2 separate regions of the Homo sapiens genome follow, and region 1 is linked to region 2. Evidence: promoter capture Hi-C in human tissues and cell types (Jung and others, 2019). All regions are on one chromosome and are shown on one strand. The core of a region is centred on a gene start or on the middle of the fragment in contact, and the rest is flanking DNA. Distances in the headings are between cores, read along the strand shown. Region 1 overlaps ZNF75A (zinc finger protein 75A). Region 2 holds the start of C16orf90 (chromosome 16 open reading frame 90).

What was found. Contacts are between HindIII fragments. The study calls those that stand out against the background at their distance.
Region 1: a contact is called between a fragment that was not itself captured here and the fragment with the promoter of C16orf90 in region 2, in 1 of the 25 tissues and cell types used here (spleen).

Annotation. Positions count from the first base shown.
Region 1 is chr16:3,318,762-3,325,345 of GRCh38, forward strand. It overlaps ZNF75A (zinc finger protein 75A), which reads left to right. Exons shown (of 7, transcript NM_001302109.2): 7 at 1-90. It also overlaps a transcript of OR2C1 not described here and the pseudogene RPL7L1P19. Among named protein-coding and RNA genes, the nearest start is that of ZNF75A, 17 kb to the left of the region's middle. The HindIII fragment of the contact is 3,861 bases long and covers 66-3,926 here.
Region 2 is chr16:3,493,459-3,500,498 of GRCh38, forward strand. C16orf90 (chromosome 16 open reading frame 90) reads right to left here and starts at 2,031. Exons shown (of 3, transcript NM_001080524.2): 1 at 1,918-2,031; 2 at 1,066-1,419; 3 at 26-529. The coding sequence starts at 1,963. The coding sequence ends at 381. It also overlaps a transcript of CLUAP1 not described here and the pseudogene RPL18P12. The HindIII fragment of the contact is 9,668 bases long and covers 1-2,788 here.

The DNA of each region.
Region 1 (6,584 bases), core at 746-3,245, 170 kb before region 2:
CAGGCAGGATCCTGTGGCTCATTTGGCATGGAGACCTGGACATGTAGTCAGCAGGAGACGGTTCCCTAAATAAAAGATTTGGGCACTGGTGCTAAGTGTTGGGCGAGGATGAGCAAATCTACATCCATGTTGTTCTGTCCTGTCCTGTAAGCTCTACCTGTCTTTGTTCTTTCCAGCACAGCATTTAACAGCAGCCTCAGGTGATAAATTTGATGGATTGCCAAAAGTCTGTATAGCCTATGGATTTTCTTACAACTTGCTTGTTTAGCTACAGCAGTGACTCAGGTGCATTCCTTTTAGAGCTCTTAGGTATATCAGGAAAGGGGTTAAATAACTGACCTCTTCCAAACCTCTTATTTTATTTTTTTTGAGACAGAGTTTCGCTCTTGTCACTCAGGCTGGAGTGCAATGGTGTGATCTCAGCTCATTGCATCCTCCACCTCCCAGATTCAAGCAATTCTTCTGCCTCAGCCTCCAGAGTAGCTGGGATTACAGGCACCCACCACCACGCCTGGCTAATTTTTTGTATTTTTAGTAGAGACGGGGTTTCACCATGTTGAGCAGGCTGGTCTCGAACTCCTGACCTCAAGTGATCCACCCGCCTCGGCCTCCCAAAGTGCTGGGATTACATGCATGAGCCACTGTGCCCAGCCTATACTAATTGTTTCTTAAGTACAGCCAACTCTGGAGCTCTGGTCTACATAGCTCTTACCCAGCACCACCTTAACTTAAGACCTCCAGGATTCTGTTTCTTCTCCCAGATCATGTGTGGCTTTCTTTCTGGCCCTACATTCATTCATTCTGTTCAATTTAATGAAGGCCTATGATGTGTCAGGCACTGTCCTATACTCTGAGGACACAGGAGTGGCCAAGAGACAAAATTGCATCCCCTCATGGAACTTGTATTCCAGTGAACAGTAAGAAGAATGGTTTTGCTTTCCTGCTCCTTGCTCTAAGACGGGTATGAGATAGTTTTGGTCAATGAGTTGTGAGCATTGTGAGCCTCTGGCTGAAGCTTTTCATTTTTTTTTTTTTATTTTTTTTTTTATTTTTTTGCTGGTACAAGGCCAGTGCTCTCCTTTCCTGCCTTAATCATGGAACCACATACAGAGAGAGCAGCCATGAAATCAAAGCAGTCCAGAACACTGAGCCACTGCATGGAGGGCGGCTATTCCCAAGAGTCTCCAGACCTATAGTGAACTTTGTGAGAACAAGAAATAAACATTTGTTCTGTTAAATCACTGAGACATTGGTGCTATGTGTTTCTGTAGCATAACCTGCCCTATCTTTTTTTTTTTTCTTGAGACGGAGTCTCGCTCTGTTGCCCAGGCTGGAGTGCAGTGGCGCAATGTCAGCTCACTGCAAGCTCCGCCTCCTGGGTTCATGCCATTCTCCTGCCTCAGCCTCCCAAGTTGCTGGGACTACAGGTACCCGCCACCACGCCTGGCTAATTTTTGTATTTTTAGTAGAGATGGGGTTTCACCTTGTTAGCCAGGATGGTCTTGGTCTCCTGACCTCGTGATCCACCCGCCTCGGCCTCCCAAAGTGCCGGGATTACAGGCGTGAGCCACCGCACCTGGCCAACCTGGCCTATCTTAATAGAGCTTGGAAAAGGGCAGCTGGGGGAGTGACTGTTTTGCTGGAGCTCTGGACCTTTCCATTTTCATTCTGCCTAGCCTTTGGCCCTCAAAAGAGACCTGGCTTCCCGTGGATACTAAACTGAGCTGATGCAACACTAATGGGACCACTTAAGACCTCCCAAGACTGTAGATGATAGGGAAGAAAGACATTGCTGTCTTGGACAAATCTTATGGGAGGTCAGTTCAAGGGGACAAGGCAACCCTCCTTCCCTATCTGGCCTTATTCCACTTCCCTTATTCTTTGTCTCCCTGCGCGTTGCCTCATGCACAAAACAGGCATTGCTATTGATGAATGGGCTATGGTGGGGGTTAGGGGGTAGGGATTGCCTTCCTCATATGCATGCAGGAGATTTCAAAGAATGGTTTGTTAACTACCTCTGTTGTATCTTCAGTGAGTTGTGCCTCAGAAAACAGATGAGATATAGGGCAAAAGCAAATTTGTCCAGATCAGTGTAGACAGTAAGGTGGCTATCTTCCTGGACTAAGGGATGACGGACAACTGGGGAGAAACTTGGGCAGGGAGGCAGGAGCAAGACAGTTCCACCTGTGGAGTGAGAATCCTCCAGGGGGAAAGTCGTAGCTTAGCCAGTACCCAGCTGCTGCACATAACATGATGTCTCATAACAACCTTGGAATTTGTGGGGTGGGGAGTGGAAGAAGGGATTTCTGTAGCTTGAGATGAGATTGGATTACTAAAATGATATCAGATGATATGAGAACAAATTACTTAAACCATGATATTAAAATCTATTGAGGCTTGCTTTAAAAATGAAATGAGAGACACATAATCCTAGGTTTAGCCTTAAACATTAGTACTAAATGCACTAATTAGTACTAAATGCACAAATATGTCCTCCATAAACCGGCAGATGATTTCCAGGAAACAAGAAGGATGCTTTATTTTAGCATGTTCAGATAGCAGCCTTACCGTGGCTTCACGGTTATTTCAGAGAACTGTATCATTGACCCCGTCTAGTCTCCTGACCTGTCCCCTGCACTAGTCTAAGTTCAGTGCTGGGACCATCCCAGACCTAGAGTTCTCCCTGCCGTTAAGCAGACTGGACCTTGAGCTCACCTTGAGAACCTCAGATATATTTTATTTTTGAGACAAGGGTCTCTGTTGCCCAGGCTGGGGCTCACCACAGCCTCGATCTCCCAGTCTCAAGCAATCCTCCCACCTCAGCCTTCTGAGTATCTGGGACTCCAGGCACGTGCCACCATGCCTGGGTTATTATTTTTTTACTTTTAGTAGAGATGAGGTCTTGCTATGTTGCCCAGGCTGATCTTGAACTCCTAAGCTCAAGTGATCCTCCTGCATTGGCCTCCCAAAGTACTGAGATTACAGGCATGAGCCACCATGCCCAACCTCAGATATCTTTTAACTGGAGGGGAAGAACAGGAGGGGCTTAGAATCAAAGTAAATCTCAAAACTAAAACTCCTAGGGTTTCTGTTAACTTTTGGAACTACTGAGAACAGTGTTTAATTTCCCAGGTAAGTTTGAGGAAGAACGCCCAGCAGCCTCTTTTATCCAAATGGACAATTGGTAACAAAAGATGGGAGTTCATAAAGGATTTTCCAAATATTTGTTGAGTCATGCCACTGAAGCATTTACTCCAGCATTTCCTGGTCACTCCTCCCTGTCATGTGTGATGAAGGCTGCCCTGTTACTCTTCTCTTGGAGGTTTTCTAGTGCATAAATACTTGCTGAAGCTCTCCCCACATTCTCTGTGGACTGAATTCTCTCCTATGTAGACTCTCTGAAGTCCCCTCAAGTGGGAAACAAAGTTTTGCCCATACTTCACGTTTCTACTGTTTGTCCCAGTAGAAATCCACCCAAACAAAAAGCATACTTTTGTTTCTGAATCTTTTCTACACCTGTCACTTTTTCTTGTGTGGGTTCACTGGGGACCGAGATGAGGGCACTGTTTGAAACATCAACCAAATTTGCTACATGCCTAGGTTTCCTTCATGTATTAATCCTCCACTGGGCAATGGTAGTTGGGCTGTACTGAAATGCCTTCTTCAGTCGAGCGTCTGTAAGGCTTTTCTCCTGTACGATTCACCCAAATCTGATAATGCGTGTACTTTGCCTAAAGCAGTTCGCCTAGTCTGAATCCCTCCTGTGAAAGGAATTAAGCAAGCTACCTTTTGCATTGCATTTCAGATTTAAGAAAACTATCTGAATCACTTTTCATTTCTGCCACAGTTCAGATAATGAATCTTGAGTTGCACCAATCTTAGCGCTGACATTAAAAATCAAGCTTTACAGTGTTTGGATATGATGCACCTTTTAGGAGAAACTAAGAAAGCTTACTGTTGAAATTTTTTTTTTTGACAAGTTAACATTTATTTTTGGGCCTTTCTTCCTATGTGTATTTCAAGTCTTTTTCAAAACAAGGACCCAGGAATCTCCAGATTCAATTATGTCCCTGGGCTTGGTCGACTGCTCCCGGAGTCTTAGGAAGCCTTGTACAAATGCTAGAGTTACTCATTCACCAACATTAAACCCTAGGATAGAAGATTCAACAAAGCAGGACTACTTCCGCCGACAAGGAGGCAGCCAATGTAGAAAATGCTGGAATTTTTCCTTGGAACTGGACTGTGATGAGAGGTACTTGCCATGAACCTAAGCTACTGTCTTTTTTTTTAACCCTTCCTTTCCAGTTTTTGAAGATAAAGCAGGAAATAGTCTTTGAAGATACTTGATAAAAAAAATCTCAAAAAAACAAAAACACATGCTTCCACTTCATTGATAAAAATTTACTGCAGTTTGGCACCTGGGTCTAGTTCAGCTGGCAGATGAGCTGATTGATGCATTCACCCCAATAGCCAGATGTGCCCATCTCCTTGAGGAAGCCCACTGTATTTTTGGTAGCATGATGGACCACTGAGAGGTGGAAAGGGCAAAAGAACCATGAGATCTCCTGGAAATGCTTCACTGGGAGGCAATTTCATGAATGAGGTCTTCCAAGCAAATGACACCAAACTTCCCCAGGTGCTCCTCAATCACTGTGTTGTCTGTCAGAGGGATGGTGTTCTTATTGACCTTGGCTTGTCCATGTTTCAGAATGAATTCCCGGACAGACTTCAGATTTGGAAATCCCCAGATCACATAAGGTTCCACTATACGCAGCATTTTTAGGTTCTGGGGGGTGACTTTTACAAAGACACCACTAAAAATTTTCTTAAGATGAAGTCTTGCAATGGCTGTCTGCACCAGTAGACTCACGCCAACAATCCTTTTGCTGCATACAACAAAGGCCAAGGAATGTTTATCTGGCAATTCCAAGGCACGAGGTTTCATTTCTAGTCATCTGAGACACACCTTGTCACATTTCTGCCACCAGGAATTATGTAGGAATGATTCCAGTCCCTTAAACCTGAGCCCTTTTCCTTTCCGCTGCTCCTTCTTTGCCAAAAGTGCCTGCTTTGTCTGAGTGGCTTTGAGGACTTGATAAGCCTTCCTCTTTTTCAGGAGATTTTCTGGAACCAAAGGGATTTTTCTTTGCTTTTGCTCTGCCATCTTTCTAGTGTTGTAGCTGCTGATCCTTACTGTTGAATTTTTAAAACCAATAGGTATACTTCCAACATAATTTTCACACTAAGCATTTGCCCATGATTTGTACAATCAACTGAATGATTTCAAAGCATTTGAAACAATCAAAAAGTAAAAGATCTTTACTGTTCACAAAGACAAAATTAAATATTTGTAGCATTAGAAAAATTCCTAAAATATTTAGTAGCATAGGGAACAACAGCTTGTTACACAGAAGAGTTAGGAAAAAAAATTTTTTATTTTATTTTTTGGAGACAGAGCCTCACTCTATCCCCCAGGCTGGAGTGCAGTTGCCCGGTCTCGGCTCACTGCAACCTCCTCCCCAGTTCAAGCAATTCTCGGGCCTCATGCTTCCCAAGTAGCTGGCACCACAGGTGTGCACCACCACACCTGGCTAATTTTTTGTGTTTTAATAGAGATAGGGTTTCAACGTGTTTCCCAGGCTGGTCTCGAACTCCTGAGCTCAGGCAATTCACCTGCATAGCAGAGTTAATAGATGGGCAAAGGCCATTGAGTTGAAGAAAGCACATTATGATGCATCAGCCTCATGTTCTGGGACCAAATCAAAGTACTCACTCTACTGAATTGACCAAGCAACCATGAGAAAAATATCTAACTAAACTGCTCAGTGTTGTAATGGATTTCTCTCTACGTATGTTTGTTTTATAAATATGTTAGAGATGGGAGTCTTGATATGTTGCCCAGGCTGGCCTCGAACTCCTGGACTCAAGTGATCCTCCTGCCTAAACCTCCCCAAATCTGGGACTGCAGGTGCATGCCATCACACCTAGCTCCTACACACACACACACGTATATATATGTACATACATACATATACATACTTACATATACATATATATGCTTACCTCAAATATATTGCAGGTTTGGTTCCAGGCCCATGCAATAACATGAATATCAGAATGAAGTGAGTCACACAAATTTTTTGGTTTTCCAGTACATATAAAAAAGTTATATTTACACTGTACTGTAGTCTTTTTTATTTTTCAGTTTTGTATTGTATTGTATTGTGTTTTATGTTTTGAGACAGAGCCTCACTCTGTCACCCAGACTGGAGTGCAATGGCATGATCTCAGTTCCCTGCAACCTCTGCCTCCCAGGTTCAAGTGGTTCTTTTGTCTCAGCCTCTGAAGTAGCTGGGATTACAGGCACCTGCCACCAGGCCCAGCTAATTTTTTTATTTTTAGTAGAGATGGGGTTTCACCATGTTGGCCAGGCTGGTCTTGAACTCCTGGCCTCAACCGATTAGCCACCCTCAGCCTCCCAATGTGCTGGGATTACAGGCCTGAGCCACTGTGCCCAGCCTATTTACTTATTTTTTAATAGAGATAGGGGTCTTACTATGTCGCCCAGGCTGGTCTCAAACTCG
Region 2 (7,040 bases), core at 781-3,280:
ACAGACAGGCAGATGGACAAGAACGTGCAGGCCTTGGCTTTTATTGAGATCAGAGCTGTGGGCTCCCCGGCCTCTCAGGGAGGCGGTGGCGGGGGGGCCTGATTCTGCACTCAGCCCGGCCTCCCAGGTACAAGTGGCTGACTGGAGTCTAAGCAGGCTGCAAGGGCACGGCCATGCTTCTATTGCTTCTGCCCCTCCCTCGGAACCTCCTCCTCCTCCCTCTCCCCATCACATTCTCCCGAGGCCCAGGCCTGGGCGCTGGGCCGCTGCCTGGGCCACCCCATGTGGCAGGGCCACTGCCGGGGGCCGAGCCCCTCCTGCTCAGGCTGCCTCCTCGGCCATCCTGCCCCTCCTGTACCCAGTCCTGGCACTCGGGATCCCTATGGCCTCTCCAGGGCCCCAGAGCGGGTTCTCTTGCACAAGGGACACATGGCCTCTTCCCAGGTCCCCCAGGACCTCTTGGGCCTGAGCCTAGAAGGACTAGGCTGGGGGAGGGCACCCTTGTCTGGGTCCATGCTGGAACTGGAAGCTGAGGAAAGAGGAGAGAAAGGAGTCACTTGAGGGACCCAAGGGGAGGCTGGGGGGGAGGCTGGCAGCCCACCCTGGGGTTTCCAGAATCCGATATTCTTGAAAACAGAAGGGAGGAGGGCAATGCTTCCTCCTTAACAGAATCCCCAGGGGAGGGAGGAGGTTGAGGGAACAGAATGGTTCAAGCTGGAAGGACCCTCATCTAACCTGAACCCTCATTTTACAAGTGAGAAAACTGAGGCCCAGCAAGGGAGACAGATTCCAAGGCCCCTCACCGAGTGTGGAGCTGGGGCAGTCACCCAGCCCTCCCTCCCAGATCCTCCCTTTTTCTCGCACCGCTTTGTCCCTGGTGGATTCTCCAGACCCCGCTTAGCTGTGCGTGATGCAGAGATGGGGACAGATTCATCAAGATCTTGGCCTTCTGGGGCATGGTGCCACTGTGGAGGCTTGGGAGTGGAGAAGGGCCCGCCTGAGGCCCCAGCCCAACCATCCCCTAGGGTCTTCCCCCGTGCCCAGTCCTGCCTTGACAGAGCTCACCACTGCTTCCCAGGCTGTCCCTGGGCAATCGGGCTTCCAGAAGGGCTGAACAGAGGCTGTTACGTGGGCCCAGAGTCCCCTGTGGCAGGTCCAGGGCCCAGGCTGTGCCCTCAGGCTGTGGCAGGCAGCCCCCAGCCATAAGCCGGCCCAGCCAGTGGCTCTCACACTGGCCAGTGGGTGGCGGGTGGCTCTCCAGGTAGAGGCCCAGGCCCCGGAGGTGGCGCAGCCGGAAGTTCTTGGGCTTGCTTCCCTGGGCACTGGGGCACTGCGGCTGCGGGGACCCCAGGCCCCCCTCGTAGATGTTGGGGGGTGCGTCAGGGTGGCCGGGGCGTCCTTGGGCCTGGCTCACTGCATCTGCAGAGGAGACAGCGGGAGGGTGGTGGCCAGCCCCCCACAGCAGCCATGAGGGGAGGGTGCAGTCACATACCTCTGAGACCAGCTCACATGATGGGCTACACCCCCAGCCAACCTGGCCTCAGTTTACCTGTGTGTCAAATAGTCTCAGTCCACTGCCTCCCCTGCCCATGCCCAAGACACGACTCCTCTTCCCACTCCCAACCAACAGGGAGGCCTGGGAAGCCTCGGGCCTTGGTACTAAGAGTGCTTTCAGGACCTCAAGTCCTTTCTACTACCCTGTTCTGCCCGCTACCCTAGGAAGAGTATTCTGGTCCCCACAGAGAAATTGCACAGTGGGTTTGAGAGAAAGTGGCCAGCCCAGGGGCTCATGGCCTGGCCCAGTGGCCATTCCCCTCTCCCAAGCATACATGTCCCTGAGGCCACCCCTCGGCTTTGGGCCCAGGTGGGGACAGAAGCCTATCTCTCTTCCTGCCACTCCTCCCCACAGCCCGGCACCTTCTCTTATGTGCAGCTCAGAAAATGCACAGACCAAGGCTTCCATGGAGGGCCAGTGTGGTGGGGAGGAGCAACCAGGACTTGGGTGCAGCAGGGCCCTGCTCTCCCCTGCCTAGGGGGTACATTGGCAGGTCTCCCCTGGCAACTGGTTCTTATGACATCACGGGGAAGACTCCCAGCCTTCCTGGACCCCTAGTTTGGGAGAGGACAGTGCCCAAGGCAAGGGCAGGGTGAAAGAAAGGCATGGGAAGGGGCCAGAACCCTGGGGGAAGTCCCTGGTCCCTCTGGCTGGGGTCAGGCCACATAAAACAGACAGCTCTGGCAAACTGGAGAGTCCTTCTCTCAGGTGATCTCTTGGGGCCAGCTTCCTCATCTGGGGTGGGAAATGAGGGTTCAGGAGTACAGACCTAGGAAGACCTAGGTCGGTACTTTGAAAATGCTGAAAAGGGGCTGGGGGCGGTGGCTCATGCCTGTAATCCCAGCACTGTGGGAGGCCGAGGCAGGCTGATCAGTTGAGGTCTGTGGGAGGCCGGGGTGGGCGGATCATGAGGTCAGGAGATCGAGACCATCCTGGCTAACACGGTGAAACCCCGTCTCTACTAAAAATACAAAAAAATTAGCCGGGCGTCGTGGCGGGAGCCTGTAGTCCCAGTTACTCAGGAGGCTGAGGCAGGAGAATGGCGTGAACCCGGGAGGCGAAGCTTGCAGTGAGCCCAGATCGCGCCACTGCACTCCAGCCTGGGCTGCAGAGCGAGACTCCGTCTCAAAAAAAAAAAAAAGTTAAACATTCATCTTTCCGGACCTGGCCAAGCAGGAAGCGCCATCATGGGAGCTGACGTCCGCCACAAGAAGGACCTAAAGGTTCGGCGCAAAGAGCCCAAGAGCCAGGATATCTAACTGAGGCTGTTTGTTGGTCAAGCTGTACAGGTTACCGTCCAGACGAACTAACTCCACATTCAACCAGGTTGTGCTGAAGAGGTTGTTTATGAGTCGCACCAACCGGCCACCTCTGTCCGTTTCCCGGATGATCCGGAAGATGAAGCTTCCTGGCTGGGAAAACAAAACGGCCGTGGTTGTGGGGACGCTTAACGGATGACGCGAGGGTTCAGGAGGTGCCCAAACTTAAGGTGTGTGCGCTGCCCGTGACCAGCCGGCCCACAGCGGCATCCTCAGGGTGGGGGCCAAGATCCTGACTTTCGATCAGCTGGCCCTGGACTCCCTCAAGGACGGCGGCCCCGTCCTACTCTCCGGTCTTCGCAAGGGCCGACAGGTGTACCGGCATTTCGGCAAGGCCCTGGGAACCCCACACAGCCACACCAAACGCTATTTCCGCTCCAGGGACCAGAAGTTCGAGCGCGCCAGAGGCCTACGGGCCAGCCGAGGCTACAAAAACGAACCCTCTTATTAAAAAGATTTTGGATGCTGACAAAAAAACAAAAAGTTAAAACATTCAATTTTCTCTTGTCACAGACGACCTGATTTTTCTTTTTTTCTTTTCTTTTTTTTTTTTTTTAAGATGGAGTCTCACTTTGGCGCCCAGGCTGGAGTGCAGTGGCGCGATCTCGGTTCACTGCAACCTCCGCCTCCCGAGTTCAAGAGCTTCTCCTGCCTCGGCCTCCCCAGCAGGTGGGATTACAGGCACCCACCACCACGCCCAACGGATCTTTGTATTTTTAGTAGAGACAGGCTTTCGCCATGTTGGCCAGGCTGGTCTCAAACTCCTGACGTCAGGTGATCCGCCCACCTCGGCCTCCCAAAGTGCTGGGATTACAGGCATGACCCACCGCGCCCAGCAACCTGATCTTGTATGTAGGAAATATTAAATAATTCATACTTGAAAAAAAAAAATCCTGAACCTAGTAGAGCTTTTTCAGAGCTAATGAAGTTCAGAAAAATCTCAAGTCATAAAATCACCACACAAAAATTAATTGTATTTCTAGATACTAGCAAAGAATAAAAAGAATAAAATAGGAATACATTTAACCAAGGAGGTATAAGACAACTCTGAATACTATAAAACATTGCTGAGAGAATCTAAAGACTTAAATAAATTGGAAAGCATCACATGTTCATGGACTGAAGACTTAATATTGTTAAGATAGCAACACTCCCCAAAGTGCTCAGTACAATTCTTATCAAAATCAAAATGGCCTTCATGTAGTGTATTAGGCTTCTCCAGAGAAATATAGTCAGCAGAATGTATATAGATATTTACAGAGAAAATATTTATTAGAGGATAAATAAATCTCCTTATATAATTTTTTCTGAGATAGGGCCTTGCTCCATTGCCCAGGCTGAAGTACAGTGACATGATCACGGCTCACTGCAACCTCAACTTACCAGGCTCAGGCAATCCTCCCACCTTAGCCTCCCAAGTAGCTGGGACTACAGGTGTGCACCACCAGGCCTGGCTAATTTTTTAATTTATTTTCATTTTTTAATTTTTAATTTTTTAAATTTTTGCTGATGGAGATCTCACCATGTTGCCCAGAGCTAGTCTTGAACTCCTGGGCTCAAGTGATCCTCCTGCCTCCACCTCCCAAAGTGCTGGGGTGATAGGTGTGAGCCGCCGTGCCCAGCCAAGAGAAGATTTATTAGGGATATTGGCTTATGTGATTATCCGGGCTGAGAAGTCGCACAATATGCTGCCTGCAAGCTGGAGAACCAGGAAAACTGGTGCTGTAATTAAGTCTGGGTTCAAAAGCATGAGAATCTGGGTAGGGGTGGGGGTGAGGGCTGGTGTAAGTCCTGGTGTCCAGAAGTCCAAGAACCAGGAGCTCCAATGTCCAAGGGCACGGGAAGAAGGATGTCCCAGCCCATGAAGAGAGTGTGAATTCACCCCTCCTCTGCATTTTTGTCATAATTGGGCACCCAGCAGATTGGATGATGCCCACCACACTGGTGAGGGCAATCTTCTTTTTTTTTACTCAGTCTAGCAATTCAAATGCTAATCTCTTCTGGAAACGCTTACACAAGCACACTGAAAAATAATGTTTTACCAGCTATCAGGCATCCCAGTCAAGTTGACACACAAAATTAAGCATCACAAGCAGAAATGGAAAAGCTAATCCTAAAATTCATGTGAAATTACAAGGGAGCCCAAATAACCACAACAATCTTGGAAAAGCAAATCTTCAGAAATCAGAAACACGGCTGGGCATGGTGGCTCACACCTGTAATCCCAGCACTTTGGGACACTCAGGTGGTCAGATCACCTGAGGTCAAGAGTTTGTGACCAGCCTGGCCAACATAGGCGGGCGGATCATGAGGTCGGGAGATCCAGACCATCCTGGCAAACACGGTGAAAGCCCGTCTCTACTAAAAATACAAAAAAATTAGCCGGGTGTGGTGGTGGGCGCCTGTAGTCCCAGCTACTTGGGAGGCCGAGGCAGGAGAATGGCGTAAACCCAGGAGGCAGAGCTTGCAGTGAGCCGAGATCGCACCACTGGCACTCCAGACTGGGTAACAGAGCGAGACTCCATCTCAAAAAACAAACAAACAAACAAACAAACAACAACAACAAAAAAAAGTGAAAAGACAACCTATGAAATGGAAGAAAATATTGGCAAATCATATATCTGATAAGGGTCTCATAGGCAGAATATATAAAGAACACTTACAATTCAAAAACAAAAGGATGTTCAACCCAATTTTGAAATGGGCAAAGAAAATGAATAGACATTTTTCCAATGGAAATATACAAATGGTCATCAAACACGTAAAAAGATGTTCAACATCTTTAATCATCAGGGAAATGCAGGCCGCGTGCGGTGACTCACGCCAACATGGCGAAACTCCGTCTCTACCCAAAATACAAAAATTAGCTGGGCGCGGTGGCGCGCGTCTGTAATCCCAGCTCCTCCGGAGGCTGAGGCAGGAAAATCGCTTGAACCCTGGAGGCGGAGGTTTCAGTGAGCCGAGATTGTGCCACTGCACTCCAGCCTGGGCAACAAGAGCAAGAGTCCATCTCAAAAAAAAAAGTTCAAGTTGATCAACATCCTTTCAAGCCCTTGGCATTGTCAAGAGTTTTTTGTTGTTTTAGCCATTTTATCTAGATTTAATTTTTAGGTTTTTAACGTGTTACCTGATATTTTAGCCAGTTTAATAACTTCATAGTGATATCTCATTGTGGTTTTAATATGCACTTCTCTAATAATAGCCTTGATCATCTCTTCATTTGCATATTAGCCATCCATATATCTTCTTTTGTGAAGTAGCTTTTAAAATGTTTTCTCCATTCTCTAATTAGACTGTTTCTCATTATTGAGTGTTGAGAGTTCTTGATACATTCTGGATACACGTCTCTTTATCAGATATGTGTTTTGTGCATATTTTCTTCTAGACTGTGGCTTATCTTTTGTTTTTCTTAATAACACGTGAAGCAACATTTATGGGAGGCCATTGTTTTGGAGCGAGCTCCTGCACAAGGTACCAACGGACCAGACCAAACCAGAATGGAATCGCTAGTGCAAGGTGCCACGTAATCAATGCGAACTTAGAGACAGGCCAGTCTGCCAAAACACAGAAGATTCACTGCAACCAACAAAAGGGGCCCTGTCCACCTAGGCTGGCATAAGGAAGCCCCCTCTGCTTTAACCCAAAGAAATGCATCTGAAATAACCTGATGCCAACCAATCGCTTTGTGCACTACGCTGTTTCCTTGTTCCTGCTCAAGCTACCTTACAAAACCCGGCTGCTGTGCCACGCCTGGCGGGGCATCTCCCCATTTCACACGTGGAGGCCGCCCCTTCCTGCCGTCTCCTCGCGCCCCCATGCAGAGGCTAGGGCTGCCGGGACCCGCGCGGCGCGAGCGGCTCAGGGCCCCTTTCCGGCCTGTTGTGCAGCCCGAGCCGTCTGCGCGTGCGCGAGACCGAGGCCTGGCCTGCCTCTGGGCGCCCACAGTGATCCCGTCCTCCGCTCGGCAACCAGATTCCGACGAGGAGCGCGCTGTGCCTCGGACGGGGGAAGGCGGGCTTCCTGAGTATAGTGCATTTTTTTTTTTTTTTTTTTTTTGAGACAGAGTCTCGCTCTGTCGCCAGGCCGAAGGGCAGTGGCGCGATCTCGGCTCACTGCAACCTCTGCCTGCCGGGTTCAAGTAATTCTTCTGCCTCAGCCTCCCGAGT